Linked DNA regions of Homo sapiens: all the other regions are linked to region 2. The links are contacts of gene promoters, found by promoter capture Hi-C in human tissues and cell types (Jung and others, 2019). All regions are on one chromosome and are shown on one strand. The core of a region is centred on a gene start or on the middle of the fragment in contact, and the rest is flanking DNA. Distances in the headings are between cores, read along the strand shown. Region 1 has its middle 21 kb from the start of KIF1A. Region 2 holds the start of ING5 (inhibitor of growth family member 5). Region 3 overlaps SNED1 (sushi, nidogen and EGF like domains 1).

What was found. The method cuts DNA at HindIII sites, captures the fragments that hold promoters and counts their contacts. A contact is called where the count stands out against the background at its distance.
Region 1: a fragment that was not itself captured here is called in contact with the fragment with the promoter of ING5 in region 2 in 1 of the 25 tissues and cell types used here (spleen).
Region 3: a fragment that was not itself captured here is called in contact with the fragment with the promoter of ING5 in region 2 in 2 of the 25 tissues and cell types used here (lymphoblastoid cells and spleen).

Annotation. Positions count from the first base shown.
Region 1 is chr2:240,838,407-240,843,322 of GRCh38, forward strand. No RefSeq gene overlaps it. Among named protein-coding and RNA genes, the nearest start is that of KIF1A, 21 kb to the left of the region's middle. RefSeq lists an enhancer at 787-1,287. The HindIII fragment of the contact is 4,124 bases long and covers 803-4,916 here.
Region 2 is chr2:241,700,087-241,704,730 of GRCh38, forward strand. ING5 (inhibitor of growth family member 5) reads left to right here and starts at 1,953. Exons shown (of 8, transcript NM_032329.6): 1 at 1,953-2,016; 2 at 4,567-4,638. The coding sequence starts at 1,980. RefSeq lists silencers at 1,247-2,066, 1,809-1,972, 2,157-2,716 and enhancers at 1,371-2,203, 2,442-3,071. The HindIII fragment of the contact is 25,906 bases long and covers 1-4,644 here.
Region 3 is chr2:241,080,432-241,085,401 of GRCh38, forward strand. SNED1 (sushi, nidogen and EGF like domains 1) reads left to right here. Exons shown (of 32, transcript NM_001080437.3): 28 at 1,246-1,362; 29 at 1,846-1,933. It also overlaps a transcript of MTERF4 not described here. Among named protein-coding and RNA genes, the nearest start is that of SNED1-AS1, 19 kb to the left of the region's middle. The HindIII fragment of the contact is 4,214 bases long and covers 1,606-4,970 here.

The DNA of each region.
Region 1 (4,916 bases), core at 1,615-4,114, 860 kb before region 2:
TGAAAATGACAAGAGGATATAACTATAGAAACAAAATATTTAAAATTAAATACATATACAAAAAGTGAAAATCTAAGTAACATCGATACAGCTGGGTGCAGTGGCTCACACCTGTAATCCTAGCACTTTGGGAGGCCGAGGAGGATGGATCACCTGAGGTGAAGAGTTCAAGACCAGCCTGGCCAACCTGGCCAAACCCCATCTCTACTAAAAATATAAAAATTAGCCAGGCGTGGTGGCACATGCCTGTAATCCCAGCTGCTCGGGAGGCTGAGGCAGAGAATCGCTTGAACTTGGGAGGCGGAGGTTGCAGTGAGCTGAGATTGTGCCATTGCACTCCAGCCTGGGCAACAGAGCAAGATTCTGACAAAAAAAAAAAAAGGTGCATAATGAGAAGAAAATTGAAGCAAGTCAAAGAGAAATTACTAGAGGAGTCTTACCTATGCTATGGCAAATCAACCTAACAACTTTAAGGCCATAATAATTAAAACAACTCAATATTGGCAAGGGAACCAACAAAAAGATAAATGATAGAGGTAGCACATGCTAAGGGCGGGATTTCAAACTAGTAGGGGAAAGGCTCAACCTTCTCAGCTGCACTTGGGTGAAGGATCTCTGGAGAGGGAAAGTCAGGAACCCTCCCTGCTCCATGCACAAGCCCAGTGGACTAAAACCTAACCTAAGAACAGAAACTCCGGAGCAAGTGGGTGAGTGGGTAAATCAGCGAGAACCAGCTCTTTCCCAATGCCTCACCCACATGGAGGCCCATGGCCAGGGTTGGCTTTGTCTGATGGATGCGGGACACCCTCGGCCAGCAGGGGCCCAGGCGCGGCTGGAGACTGGAGGCCAGCTGAGCAGAAAAGCCAGGCCCTGCAGCGAAGCCTGATCAGAGGCAGCTCCCCCTCCCCGAGCCTGCGTGCTGCAGATGGGTGCTGGCTGGTGACACCATCCCTGACCGTGCAGGGCAGCCATCGGCGGGGATAGCCCATGTGTGCATACGGTTGGATGACTCAGAGTCAGTCCCAAGCCGGAGGCCTCTCACCCACAGCTGAAGTTTGATGTTGGATCTGTGCCTCACCGCAGTGTGGCCTGGAGTTCCAGGATGCTAACATTCACGAGCCTATGCAGTGCCCCCATGGCACTTTCAGAGGAAGGCACTGAGGGTTGAGCTGGACACATCTCCTGATCCCAGGGCCCCTGCCTCCTCGTCTCCATCAGGGGTTCTCAGAGGCGGCTGGGCACCTGGTGCACCCGGGCTGGCCACCGTGTTGTTAAATGCACCCCAGAGTTCCTGGGGCTCAGCCTGAGTCGGAGCCGCTGGTCAGAATTACCTCCAGTGCCCCGCACTGTGAGGGGGAGTGTGGCTTCTGGGAAAAAAGAGGCGCCATCTGCATAGAGCAGCCCTCTCTCCCTCTCCCCTCGTCCCCTTCTGTGGTCCCAGCTCCTGTGCAGGTCACCAGAGAGTGACTTTCCCTGAAGCCCACACTGGCGGCTCCTACCCTGGTAAGGAGGGGGCACACCTGGGTCCGGTTCCCAGGTAGTGTCTACTCAATGCTAGCTGTGTGGCTCCGGGCAGGGCTCCCTCTCTCCAGCCTCAGTTTCCCCATCTGTAAACTGGAGAGTCTTTTAGAGGCCACAACCTCGGATGACCCTTCTGCCACTCAGGCTCCATCAAAGGGTCTGCAGTTCTGCTTCCATCCAAGGGAGCACAGCACGCAAGGGACTTAACTCAGACTCAAGGTCAGAAGATGACCTGCAGAAACAGAACCAGCAGCAGGAGCAGCTGAGATGGAAGCTTTCCTTAGATCTTGGCAGAAGAGAAGTTGACCTTGGAGGAAGGAGTTTGGGGATCAATTCCCTTTTCCTCTGTTATTCAAGAGGACGTGTGGGGAGCTAAGAGGCCAGTCCAGATGCCGCCAATGCCGCTGTGTGCAAAGCTGTCTCTGAGAGCAAACGTGGGGCTTGGTGGCCGTGAGCTGGCCACACTGAGCATCTCTTCCAGGCAAATTCTGTCTCCCCCAGCCCCAGGTGCAATCACTGGGCCATGACTGGAGAAATTGAGTGGGGAGGTGTGGAGAAGGCATCCTGGCAACAGCAGGGGCAGTCGTGACCCATGGAGGACACCCTGTGTGGACCCGTAAGGGGGAGCTGCAGACACCATGGACAGCGAGTTCCCTGGGCTGGTCAGCAGGGGACAAGGATCCCAGCAATCCATGGCCTGAGCTCACAGGCCTGGAGGGCTCCAAACAGCCTCCCCAGTGCCACCTGCTGGGAAAAAGAATTAGAACCAGGGATGCATCTAAAACTGACAGGAAAGGTTAGACAGGAGCTCCCAACAGGGCGAGTGTGCCTCGGGATCCACAGCCCAGGCCCCCTCCCCATGGGGGAGGCTGTCCCCACCCAGGCCCAGGTGCCCACAGAAGTGTGGCCTTCCCGGGAGGATCCAGCTGTCGCTGGGTGGCCAACACGCCTCTTCTCAGGGTGCCTGGACACATGCTCCTGAGGCATGCCCCCCTGGGCTGAGCACAGGGAGCCCCACCTCAAAGCTGAAGCCCCATCAGTGCAGCCACATAGGTGCCTGGGTCCAGCTGGCCTCATCTCCTCCAGGCCAGCCTCCCCAGCTGCTCTTCTCCGTTTACAGGAGGGACCCTTGGATAGGTCACTCCCTGTTCCATGCCTCTGTTTCCTCATCTGTAAACGGGAAATAACACAGAATTTCCTCAAGGGGCTGCAAGGACTGGCTGAGTTCTGTAAAATGTGGAGGACAGGGCACACCGATGGCTCATTCCCATGACTCCTGGGCTTCTAGGATGGACAGGAATCCAGCTTCCCAGCTGGGCTTCTGGTTTCGGCCCTTCCCTGATGGATCTGGCATGGGAGGGCCCACTTCCTTCCAGGATCTGCCTGTGGCCTGTGCTCCTGGTCGGGCCAGCAAGAATGAACTTATTCTCAGGGTCCCCCCATCTCCCAGCCTCCTTGCAGCCTCCTGGGCCACATCTGCAGTCTCAGGGACTCGAAGCCCTGCGGGGAGAGGTCAGCGGGAGGCCTGTGACCTCAGAACACCTCTCCACCCACAGGCACCAGATCTGGGGGCAGCCCAGGAGGGGCTAGGACATTCCTAGGGCCCTGAGGGATGTGGGCTGGGAGCTGGCCCTCAGGGCTACCAGGTGAAGGTCTGGGCTGGGCTTTGGGGAAAGGAATCCGGGGGTCTGTTCTGAGGAAGGGAGGTCTTTTGCCTGGGGTGACCCTTCATAGAGCACTCTCTCCTGTCCCACCAGGAATTAGGTGAGGCCTTAGGCTTCAAGCCTACTGGGGTTGTAAGGGAGAATGAAAATCTTTCCTTTCACCCTCTGAAGTTTCCCTGAAAAAATGAACCGACAGAAAGCAGATTAACAGGAGAAAAGGCATACAAATTTATTAATGTACACAGGAGTCAGGGAAATAGAACTCAAAGAGGCTGGGCACGGTGGCTCATGCCTGTAATCCTAGCACTTTGGGAGGCTGAGGTGGGTGGATGGCTTAAGCTCAGGAGTTTGAGACCAGCCTGGGTGAAACCCCATCTCTACCAAAAAAAAAAAAAAAAAATTAGCTGGGCTTGGTGGCACGTGCCTGTGGTCCCAGCTACTTGGGAGGCTGAAGTGGGAGGATCACTTGAGCCTGGGGGTTGGCGGCTACAGTGAGCTTAGATGGCGCCACTACACTCCAGCCTGGGTGATAGAGCAAGACCCCCTCTCAAAAAAAAAAAAAAGAACTCAAAGAAAGGCAGGATAGTTGCTGTTTTTATACCACCTTGAGATTTGTAAACCAAGAATAAAGTCCTAAGCCCTTTCAACCAACTGACTAGACCCCGTTATATATATAAAGTTTGGTGCCGCAAAAGGAATAGCACTCGAATATAAAATTTTATTTTTAATTCTCAGCAAGGTAAGTTACTGCTATAGAAGGATGTACCCTTAGAGATGGAGCAATGGTGAGCGCACACCTGGACAAGGGAGGGGAAGCGGGTCTTAACCCTGAAGGATGTGGCCCCTGCTGCTGTGTGGTTCCGCTACTGGCTAGGGTTAGACCGCACAGGCTAAACTAATTCTGACCGGCTAATTTAAAAGGAGTGATGGGGTGAGTGCTTTGGCGGGAAAAATGGTTATGACAGAGCAGGTAATCAGAATGAGTCGGGGGGAGCAGGTGATCGGAATGAGTCAGGGTGGAATAGGTAATCAGAATGAGTCGGGGGGAGCAGGTGATCGGAATGAGTCTGGGTGAAGTAGGTAATCAGAATGAGTCGGGGGAGCAGGTGATCGGAATGAGTCAGGGGGAGCAGGTAATCAGAATGAGTCGGGGGAGCAGGTGATCGGAATGAGTCTGGGTGAAGTAGGTAATCAGAATGAGTCGGGGGAGCAGGTGATCGGAATGAGTCAGGGTGGAGTAGGTAATCAGAATGAGTCGGGGGGAGCAGGTGATCGGAATGAGTCTGGGTGAAGTAGGTAATCAGAATGAGTCGGGGGAGCAGGTAATCAGAATGAGTCAGGGTGGAGTAGGTAATCAGAATGAGTCGGGGGGAGCAGGTGATCGGAATGAGTCTGGGTGAAGTAGGTAATCAGAATGAGTCGGGGGAGCAGGTGATTGGAATGAGTCAGGGGGAGCAGGTGATCGGAATGAGTCAGGGGGAGCAGGTGATCGGAATGAGTCTGGGTGAAGTAGGTAATCAGAATGAGTCGGGGGAGCAGGTGATTGGAATGAGTCAGGGGGAGCAGGTGATCGGAATGAGTCAGGGGGAGCAGGTAATCAGAATGAGTCGGGGGAGCAGGTGATCGGAATGAGTCTGGGTGAAGTAGGTAATCAGAATGAGTCGGGGGAGCAGGTGATCGGAATGAGTCAGGGTGGAGTAGGTAATCAGAATGAGTCGGGGGGAGCAGGTG
Region 2 (4,644 bases), core at 703-3,202:
ATTCTCCTTCCTCAGCCTCCTGGGTAGCTGGGATTACAGGCACCAGCCATTATGCCCGGCTAAGTTTTTTTTTTTTTTTTTTTTTTTTGGGACGGAGTGTTGCTCTGTCGCCCAGGCTGGAGTGCAATGGCACGATCTCGGCTCACCGCAAGCTCAGCCTCCCGGGTTCACGCCATTCTCCTGCCTCGGCCGCCCGAGTAGCTGGGATTACAGGCGCCCGCCACCATGCCCAGCTAATTTTTTTGTAGTTTTAGTAGAGATGGGGTTTCACCGTGTTAGGCAGGATGGTCTCAATCTCCTGACCTCGTGATCCTCCCGCCTTGGCCTCCCAAAGTGCTGGAATTACAGGAGTGAGCCACCGCGCCTGCCCTATTTTATTTTATTTTTGAGATGGAATCTTGCTCTGCTGGCCAGGCTGGAGTGCAGTGGTGCAATCTCGGCTCACTGCAACCTCCGCCTCCCAAGCTCAAGCGATTCTCCTGTTTCAGCCTCCCGAGTATCTGGGATTACAGGTACTTGCCACCATGCCCGGCTAGTTTTTGTATTATTATTATTTTGAGACGGAGTCTTGCTCTTGTCACCCAAGCTGCAGTGCAGTTACATGATCTCTTCTCACTGCAACCTCCCTCTCCCAAGTTCAAGTAATTTTCCTGCCTCAGTCTCCGAGTAGCTGGGAGTACAGGCGCCCGCCACCACGCCCGGGTAATTTTTGTATTTTTAGTAGAGACATGATTTCGCCACGTTGGCCAGGCTGGTCTCAAATTCCTGCCCTCAAGTGATCCGCCCGCCTCGGCCTCCCAAAGTGTTGGGATTACAGGCGTGAGCCACCGTGCCGAGTCTGAAACATATTTTAATTATGTTTCTCCAGTATTTTTTTTTTCTTAAAATTTTCTTTTTTTTTTTTGAAGACAGAGTCTTGCTCTGTCGCCCAGGCTGGAGTGCAGACGCGATCTCAGCTCACTACAACCTCCGCCTCCCGGGCTCAGCCTCCGGAGTAGCTGGGACTACAGGCGTGCGCCACCACGCTTGGCTAATTTTTTTTTTTTTTTGTATTTTTAGTAGAGTCGGGGTTTCAACACGTTGGCCAGGCTGGTCTCAAATTCCTGCCCTCAAGTGATCCGCCCGCCTCGGCCTCCCAAAGTGATGGGATTACAGGCGTGCGCCAGCGCGCCGGCCTTCTCCAGTATTTTTGCATGCATCTTACGGCACACCTTTGCACGCCATCTTATTAACTATATCATACTGCCGCACGTGCCTTTTCGGCCAAGGCATCCAGATGGTGCGGGTCCTGCCTGCCTCGAGAGGTGGCAGCAAAGGAGCCAGTGCCCTCACTGGTGCTGGGCGGGGCGGCCGCTTTCCTCGGAGGGAAGGGGCGGCGTTGGCGGGGGAAGGGCGCCAGGGCCCAGGCCCTGAGGGAGGGGCAGCTCGCCCGGGCCACGCGGTGCCGGCCCTCGGCTCAGGCCGGGCTGAGGCCCCGGGGGCTCGGGGTCCGGGGGAAAGGCGCTGAGCCAGACAGGTCCCAAGGAGCCTTCGGGAAGGGAGGGCCTCGTGGCGGCCTGTCCGGGACCCGGCCGGGAGCAGGGGTCGCGTGGGCGCCGTCAGGACGGGCGTGAGGTCCCCGGGACCACGTGTTTGCGTTTGGTGGCCCAGGGGTCGCTGACAGGTGCGGAGGGGAGACGCCCACCTGGGTGCCCTGGGCCGCACGCCGGGCGGTGGGGCCGGGAACCCCTGCTCCTCCTCGGCCTCCGATCCGCTGCGGCCCTGGGTCCTGCTCGCTGCCCGACGCCGCTGCCACAACCTCCGCCCGGGCCCCGCAGCCCGCCGCCCGCCGGAAGCTGAAAGGCGTGTCCGACCCCGCCCCCGGGCGCGACCAATCAGCGCGCGCGACTCATGAATAGTGAGCGCGCTGGCACCGCCCCGCCCCCGCCTCCCGCGGCACCGCCCGCCCGCGCAGACCCCGAGCGCGGCCGCGGACGAAGATGGCGACCGCCATGTACTTGGAGCACTATCTGGACAGTAAGCGCGCCCCACGGGCCCCGCGCCCGCCGCCCACGCGGAGTCCTCCGTGCCGCAGCCCCCCGCGCGCCGGGCACCGCATGCAGACCCCGTGGGCTCGGGAGGGCGGCGGGCGCGGCCGGGCGCGACGGGGGGCGCGCGGACGGGGCGGGGCAGGGCCGCAAGGGAGGGGAGGGCGCGGGGGGCGGGCGCGGGGGGTCCCGCCGGCTGGGTCGCGCCAATTCCAGGTGCGTCACGGCGGGGCGGGGCCTGGCGATGCTGGGCGGGGCTTGCGGCCTCGACCCCGCCCACATATTAGGTCCCGCCCCTACCCAGGCCCCGCCTCATCTCCGCCCCCAGCTCCGGCCCCGGCCCCGCCAGGTCCCGCCCGTCCCTGTCCCGTCTGCAGGAGGAGCTGGCGCCCGCTGCGGGGCTCCGGGCCTTGGGGGCTCCGGGGTCTGGGCCTCCGCCTGGCTGTGCGCCCGTGTGCGCCGGCCTCTTGTGTGACCGCGGCTGGGGAGGGCGTGCGGGCCGCGGGGCGTCTCTCCCCGGCACTGGGGACTGCGGCGCGGAGGCGGGGAGGGCGGTGCCGAGTCGGCCCTGGTGGGCGGGCTGTGCTGTTTCCAGGTGGCAGCAGGTCGGCGCCCCCAGCGGCTGAGCGGACGGTGCTTTCCCTCACTTTACACACCAGGGAAGGTCCAGCGCTGCCGAGCAGCCTGCTCAGGGTCTCCCGCTCGTAGAGGGGCAGACCCCACGCGGGACCCCTGACGTCGGCCCGGGATGGGCACAGCTTTGGGGTCGCGGTGTTTGGGGTTGTGCCGGGTGGCTCTGGAGGGCCCTTGTGGGGGCGCTGCACTGGGGATCCTCATGGTCTTCGGCCTGGCACCCGCCCAGGGGCTGAGACAGTGGCGAGTGAGCCGTGGCCTGGAGCTGGAGACCGCTGCCCTAGAGGGACGCCCGATTCTGCCCATGTGCTCCGCTGTCTCTTGGGGGTCTGAGTAGTGGGGGGTTCCCTGGGTAGAAGAGTCAAGCTGGGGAGCACGCTGGAGGGGAGGCCTTCTCTATCCTGGTGCCCAGCCAGTGGGCTGGCCTCCCAAGGAGGGTTGACTTTGTGTGTGTCTGGGAGGCTGTGCCAGCCGGGAGGCTGTGCCTCTGTCCTCTAGGGGAGCTGGGAAAACACTGGGGCTGGAAGCATCAGATGCATAAGATAGAGTTAGGTTTAAAATGATTGCCTGGTAACTGTGAACAGCAGATGGGAGGGTGGCCAAGACTGGAGGAGGCAGCCCCCCTTAGGAGCCTGTGTCAGCTGTGCAGGGGGCGGAGGTTGGCCTGGTCTAGGGGGTAACAAAGCAGACGCGAAAGCAGCACGGGGGTCCTCCTGGCAGACTGTGGGGAATGGTTGCGCTAGCCACAGGGACTATTTAAGTAAAATTAAAAATTGAATGGCGTTAGTCCCATTTCCAGTGCTCAGTAGCTCCCTATGGCCACCACTGTCTTGGGCAGCTCAGAGAGAACATTTCTTTTCTTTTTCTTTTTTTGATTTTTTTTGAAATGGAGTCTCACCCTGTTGCCCAGGTTGGAGGGTATGATCTCAGCACACTGCAACCTCCACCTCCCAGGTTCAAGCAATTCTCATGCCCTAGCCTCTCGAGTAGCTGGGACTGTAGCTGTGCACCACCACGCCTGGATAATTTTTGTATTTTTAGTAGAGACAGGGTTTCACCATGTTGGCCAGGCTGGTCTTGAACTCCTGACCTCAACTGATTTGCCTGTCTTGATCTCCCAAAGTGCTGGGATTACAGGTATGAGCCACCACGCCCATCCGAGAGAGGAAACATTTCTATCCTTGCATAAAGTCGCGTGGGCAGCGTGGCTACACTGCTCAATGCACTGGATTTCTGGGTAAAGTAGGGGAAGATCAAGGAGGACCCAGGGGATTTTGGCTTGAGCCTTGGAAGATGCTGCTCACTGAGGGGGGGCAGCCTAGAGGGTGGGGTCAGTTGGCCTCCCCTGCCTGTGCTGTTGGTTTCCAAGTTTCCCTCTCCCTTCTTTGACTTCTGACAGCTTCCGAAGTGTGCACACAGCCTCTTGTCAGCACTGTTTGGTACCTGCATCTAAAAATGAGATCACAGTCCTTCCGCTCCGCAAACCCTGACAGAGACAGAATACAGAGTGGGCTTGTAGACTTGAAGTATAAAACTTTTGGCCAGTCCTGGTGGCTCACACCTGTAATCCCAGCACTTTGAGAGGCCGAGGTGGGCGGATCACCTGAGGTCAGGAGTTCGAGACAAGCCTGGCCAACCTTGTGAAACCCCGTCTCAACTAAAAATACAAAAACTAGCCGGGCATGGTGGCATGTGCCTGTAATCCCAGCTACTCAGGAGGCGGAGGCGTGAGAATCACTTGAACCTGGGAGGTGTAGGTTGCAGTGAGCCAAGATCGCACCACTGCACTCCAGCCTGGGCAACAAGAGTGAAACTCCATCTCAAAAAAAAAAGACAGAAAACCTTTGGAGGTGAATTTTTGTCTTGCTGCTGAGAGGTACATGGCTTCTGTGTTTTTGCGTTTCAGGTATCGAGAACCTTCCCTGCGAACTTCAGAGGAACTTCCAGCTGATGCGAGAGCTGGACCAGAGGACGGAAGGTGGGT
Region 3 (4,970 bases), core at 2,463-4,962, 620 kb before region 2:
ATAGGGAGCGGTGTGAGTGCCAGGCTGTGGGCTCTAGATCTCGTTCTCACCAAGAAGCCAGTGATCTTTGGAGAAATGGGTGATTCCAAGACTGAAGCAGGATGTGGACAAAATAAGCCCAGGACATGTTGTGTAAAAAGCAAGCAAGCTTTCAAAACAGCAGACCATGTCCTGAGGGCGGGGAGCCAACCTGAAGGGCTCCCGCTGTCCAAAGACAGAATAAATTGAGCATCAGGAAAACAACTGACAGCAATGGACGGAAGCCCATGAAATATACCAATATCTCTGTGTTCATCGTGATGCTCAGAAAGAAGAAGCAACCTAGTGGGCAACTTTGGAGCTTGCTGAGGACCAACTCGGTCTGCAGGCACACAAGCAAAGGAGCAGGGTGGAGCCTTCACGCTGCCGTGCCTGTGTGGACCAGTCCAGGGTGACCACGGGGTAGGTGAGGGAAAGCCTGTCTTCACAGACCACTCTCCAGCTGGTGAGGGCAGGAGCGACAGGGACAGACACAGGTCTGTGAGAGGACAGCCCTTGGATCAGGGATCTCGATGTCTTGCTCGAGCCATCAGGTGCAAGGCCCGTGGGGACTTTTTTCTGGGTTGGTCAGGCTGCCAGCACTGGACCAGTGACCAGTCCTCGTGTCACTCGAGTGGGACTTGGACACATCACAGGCCGCCTGGGCTGGCTGGGGGTGCACACGCATCCCTGGGCAGCAGCCCTGCAAAGACCATCTGAACCTAAATCCTATCAAGCACCTCTCTCTAGTGAGAGTTCACAGGAAACACAGGGGTGGGATCAAGTGAGCAGTAAGTCACATCCATTAGAGCACCAGGAGGGACCTCAGGATCCAAGCAGCAGAAACCGTGTTCAGGGGCAAAGCCAGCAAGGGTCGGGGTGGGGAGGGGCCACAGGCCAGTGGGGGCTCAGCACTGAAGGCCCCGCTCCTCCCTCCCTCTCCCTCCTCCTTCTCCTCCTCCTTGTTTTTGTTTGTCTTCCTTCCTTCCAGTAATGAGGTCAGGGCCGAGCACACTGCGGCCTGTCTCCTCACCTCTGCTCTCTCTCAACACCTGAACTGGGACCACGCTCTAGGGCCCAGAGGCGTTTGGGAGGCCACCGCAGCACACCACAGAGGAGTGCACGGCCACCCTGCATCAGGTCATCAAGGAAGGGACAGCAACATGTCCATGAGGCAGGCCTGTCCTGGGGTTCCAGTGACTAACCTCTCGTGACCTCTGTTTCCAGACGTCCCTGGCAACTGTTCAGAAAACCCCTGTCAGAACGGAGGCACTTGTGTGCCGGGCGCAGACGCCCACAGCTGTGACTGCGGGCCAGGGTTCAAAGGCAGACGCTGCGAGCTCGGTAAGTCGGGGCTTGGCCTCAGGGCGCCCCTTCCAACACAGCCTGTGCCTCAGCCTAGGACTGCTGGGCCACAGCTGGGTTTGCCACGGGAGCCTCCAAACGATGAGGTGCCAGACAGGGAGTCTGGTGCACGGGGCTGACCCCTGAGCCCCCAGGGGCTGCGCTGCTGCCCCAAGCACCAGGATGAGAGGTGCTGCCCATCACGGGGGTCAGAACAGCCACAGCATGCGAGGCACAGCTTCGGAGGGCTCCCTGACCCAGCCAGAGCGGTGTCAGGAGAAGGGACTCTCCACCCCCACAATACCAACCCACCCCGGCCTTAGAGGAAGCCAGCTGCAGACCCCCGGGCCCTCTCCCACCATCCCGCCTTGGAGGAAGCCAGCCTAAGGACCCCCGGGCCCTCTCCCTTGGGCAAGGCCTCTCAAGAGGGGCAGGAGGAGCCGTCAGGAGCACCTGGTGAGCCACTGCCCTTCTTTGTCGCAGCCTGTATAAAGGTGTCCCGCCCCTGCACAAGGCTGTTCTCCGAGACAAAGGCCTTTCCAGTCTGGGAGGGAGGCGTCTGTCACCACGTGTAAGTTGGTTTCTGTCCTCCGCCTTACCGCATTTGTCGTGTGTTCTTGACTCCTCAAAGTGCTGTCTCAAAGCTACCCAGCTAACCCTGAGGAGGGACGATGGCTGCAGTCACAGAAGGGACTTGCTTTGACCATCGATTCCCTCCATGTCACAAATTAGGCAGCTGAGGCAGAAAAACCGAATAACTGCCCCAAGTCCATGCAGCTCAGGAGCAGGGGCTGAGAAGAACGCAGGCTCCTGGTCCCCAGGCCCCCAGGCCTTCCTTCCCACACATCAGCCCAGTCCCCACTGGATGGCAGAGCCAACTGATGTGACCTTCCTCTCTTCTCTTCCTCAGAGCCCCCTGGAAAAACAAACAGCTCATGAGAATGCCGGCCCCAGTTCTGCCATTAACTCATGATGTGGCCTTAGGCCCCCCATCTCCAAAATGGGCTGTGGAGGGAGAGATGCCCAGCCCATCTCTTAGGTCCTTTCTTGCTAACACTCTATGACTCTGTCGGTCACACAGTCCATTTAGTCAACAGATGACTTACTGAGCACCTGCTGTGTGCCGGGCACTGTCCATTTAGTCAACAGATGACTTACTGAGTACCTGCTGTGTGCCGGGCACTGTTCTAGATACTCAGCACACATCAGAACAGAGCAGACCAAAGCCCTGCCTTCAGGACCCGTTCATTGCAGATGAGGGGACAGACAACAGACAGCAGTGAGAGTGTGGTGTGTGGTGTGGCAGGTGGTGAGTGCAAAGGGAAAAAGGACGAGATGACAGGACGAGACCAGGAGAGCCTGCTGGGGATGGGCAGGGCTGGTGCAGCAAGAGGGCAGCCTCCTGGGGAGGGCGATGCTGAACAGACATGGAGGAGGGATGGACATTCCAGAGCCAGAGGACAGTTACCAGGGCCCCAAGTCAGGAGTGTCCCTGGCATGTTGGGGGAGAAGTGGAGAGTGGTGAGAGGTGAGGGACAGGGAACCCTCGGGGCCATGGAGACCCACAGAAGGACTCTGGTGTTTGTCCGGCATGAAATGGGGAGGAGCTACTGAAGGGTTCTGAGCAGAAGAGTGACATGTTCGATTACACTACTTTGGATGCTCTGTGGAGAATGGGATGTAGACGGGCAAGGGTAGAAGCTTCATTAGAGCTTGGACATGAAGCCAGGTGTAATATGTAGCAGGAACACATATGAGATACTAATCTGTGTTGGGATTTGGGAAGCCGTGTTGACAGCCCACTGAATTCGGATTCTATGCAGTGAGAGTCCGAATCCACAGTATCTGCCATCTTCCCGCTGTGCTTAGTTACACCAGTGCCTGCTGGTGACCACCAAGTATCCAACAAGAAGACCCTTCACTTCCTGAAAGCATTCTATCCTTTCACTTTTAACCTATCTGCATATTTCAAGTGACTTTCTAGTATTTAACATAGAGGTGGGTCTTGCTGGATATCTAGTCTGACAGTCTGGTTTTTATTGGAGTATTTAGACCATTTACTACCTTCCACATAATGGCTGATGTGGTTGGATTTAAACTGCCATATTACTATTTGTTTTCTATTTTTCCCACCTGCTTTTTGTTCCTTTTTTCTTTTTTCCTGCCTAATTTTGGATTACTTTTTAGGATTCCATTTTGTCTCCACTATGGGCTTACTGGTTATACTTCTTAGGTTTATTGTTTAGAGGTTGCTCTGGGATTTGCCATACACATCTTCACCTTAACACAATGTACCCTTAATTACTATTGTACGAGTTCAATATGATGGCAGCGTCTAGGATTTTTTTTTTTTTTTTTTTGAGACAAAGTCTCCCTCTTGTCCCCCAGGCTGGAGTGCGATGGTGCGATCTTGGCTCATCGCAACCTCTGCCTCCTGGGTTCAAGCAATTCTCCTGCCTCAGCCCCCCGAGTAGCTGGGATTACAGGCGCCTGCCACCACACCCTGCTAATTTTTGTATTTTTAGTAGAGACAAAGTTTACGTAGAGACAGGGTTTCACCATGTTGGCCAGGCTGGTCTCAAACTCATGACCTCAGGTGATCCACCCACCTTGCCCTCCCAAAGTGCTGGGATTACAGGCGTGAGTGACTGTGCCCGGCCAGCAGTGTCTAGGATTTACCATACACATCTTCAACTTCACGCCGCATACCTTTAATCACTAGTAGACAACTTCAGTATCCATGGCAGCGGCTGACATCAAGCTTCCACTTCCCTCCCATCCTTTGAATTATTATCAGACTTTTTCCTTCCACATATGCTGTGAACTGCACTATACGTTATTTTTGCACTCAAAAATTATCTTGTTTTAGATATTGAAAGTAAAGTATTTTGTATTTATTGTACATCTGCCTGCCGACTCCAGCACTCTTCATTCCTTTTTGTAGATCTAGGATTCCATCTGGTATCATTTCTCTTTGCCATAAGAACTTAACTCTAACATCTCCTATAGCACAGGTCTGCAGGAGATGAATTCTCTCTGCTTTTGTCTGAAACTATTTTTTTTTCACCTTCATTTTTGAAGAATATATTTGCTGAATATAGACTTCTTGATTGACAGTTATATTTTTTTCTTTCATGACTTAAAAGTTGTCATGGCTTTGTCTTCTGGCTTGCATAGTTCCAGACAAGAAGACTGCAGTCATTCTTACCTGTGTTACACTGTATGGAATGTGTCTTCCTGCCCCTTTTATGTTTTCCCTTTATGACTGTTTTTGGACAATTTAATTATGATGTGCTTCTCGGTATGGCTACGTTTTGATTCTCTGGAGTTTAAGCTTCTTGTATTTCTGGGTTTTAATTTTGTCAAACTTCGTAAAATTTTTGCCATTATTTCTTCATATATTTTTCCTGTCCCTCCATTTCTTCTACTTCTGGGACTCCAGTTATGCGTGTATTAGACTGATATTGTCCCACAGGTCACTGCAGCTCTTCTCAACTTTTTCAGTCTTTTCATTTTGGACAGATTCTATTGCTATGCACTCAAGGTCATTGATCTTTTCTTCTGCAGCATCTACCATTAATCCTGTTCAACAAAAGTTTTATTAATAC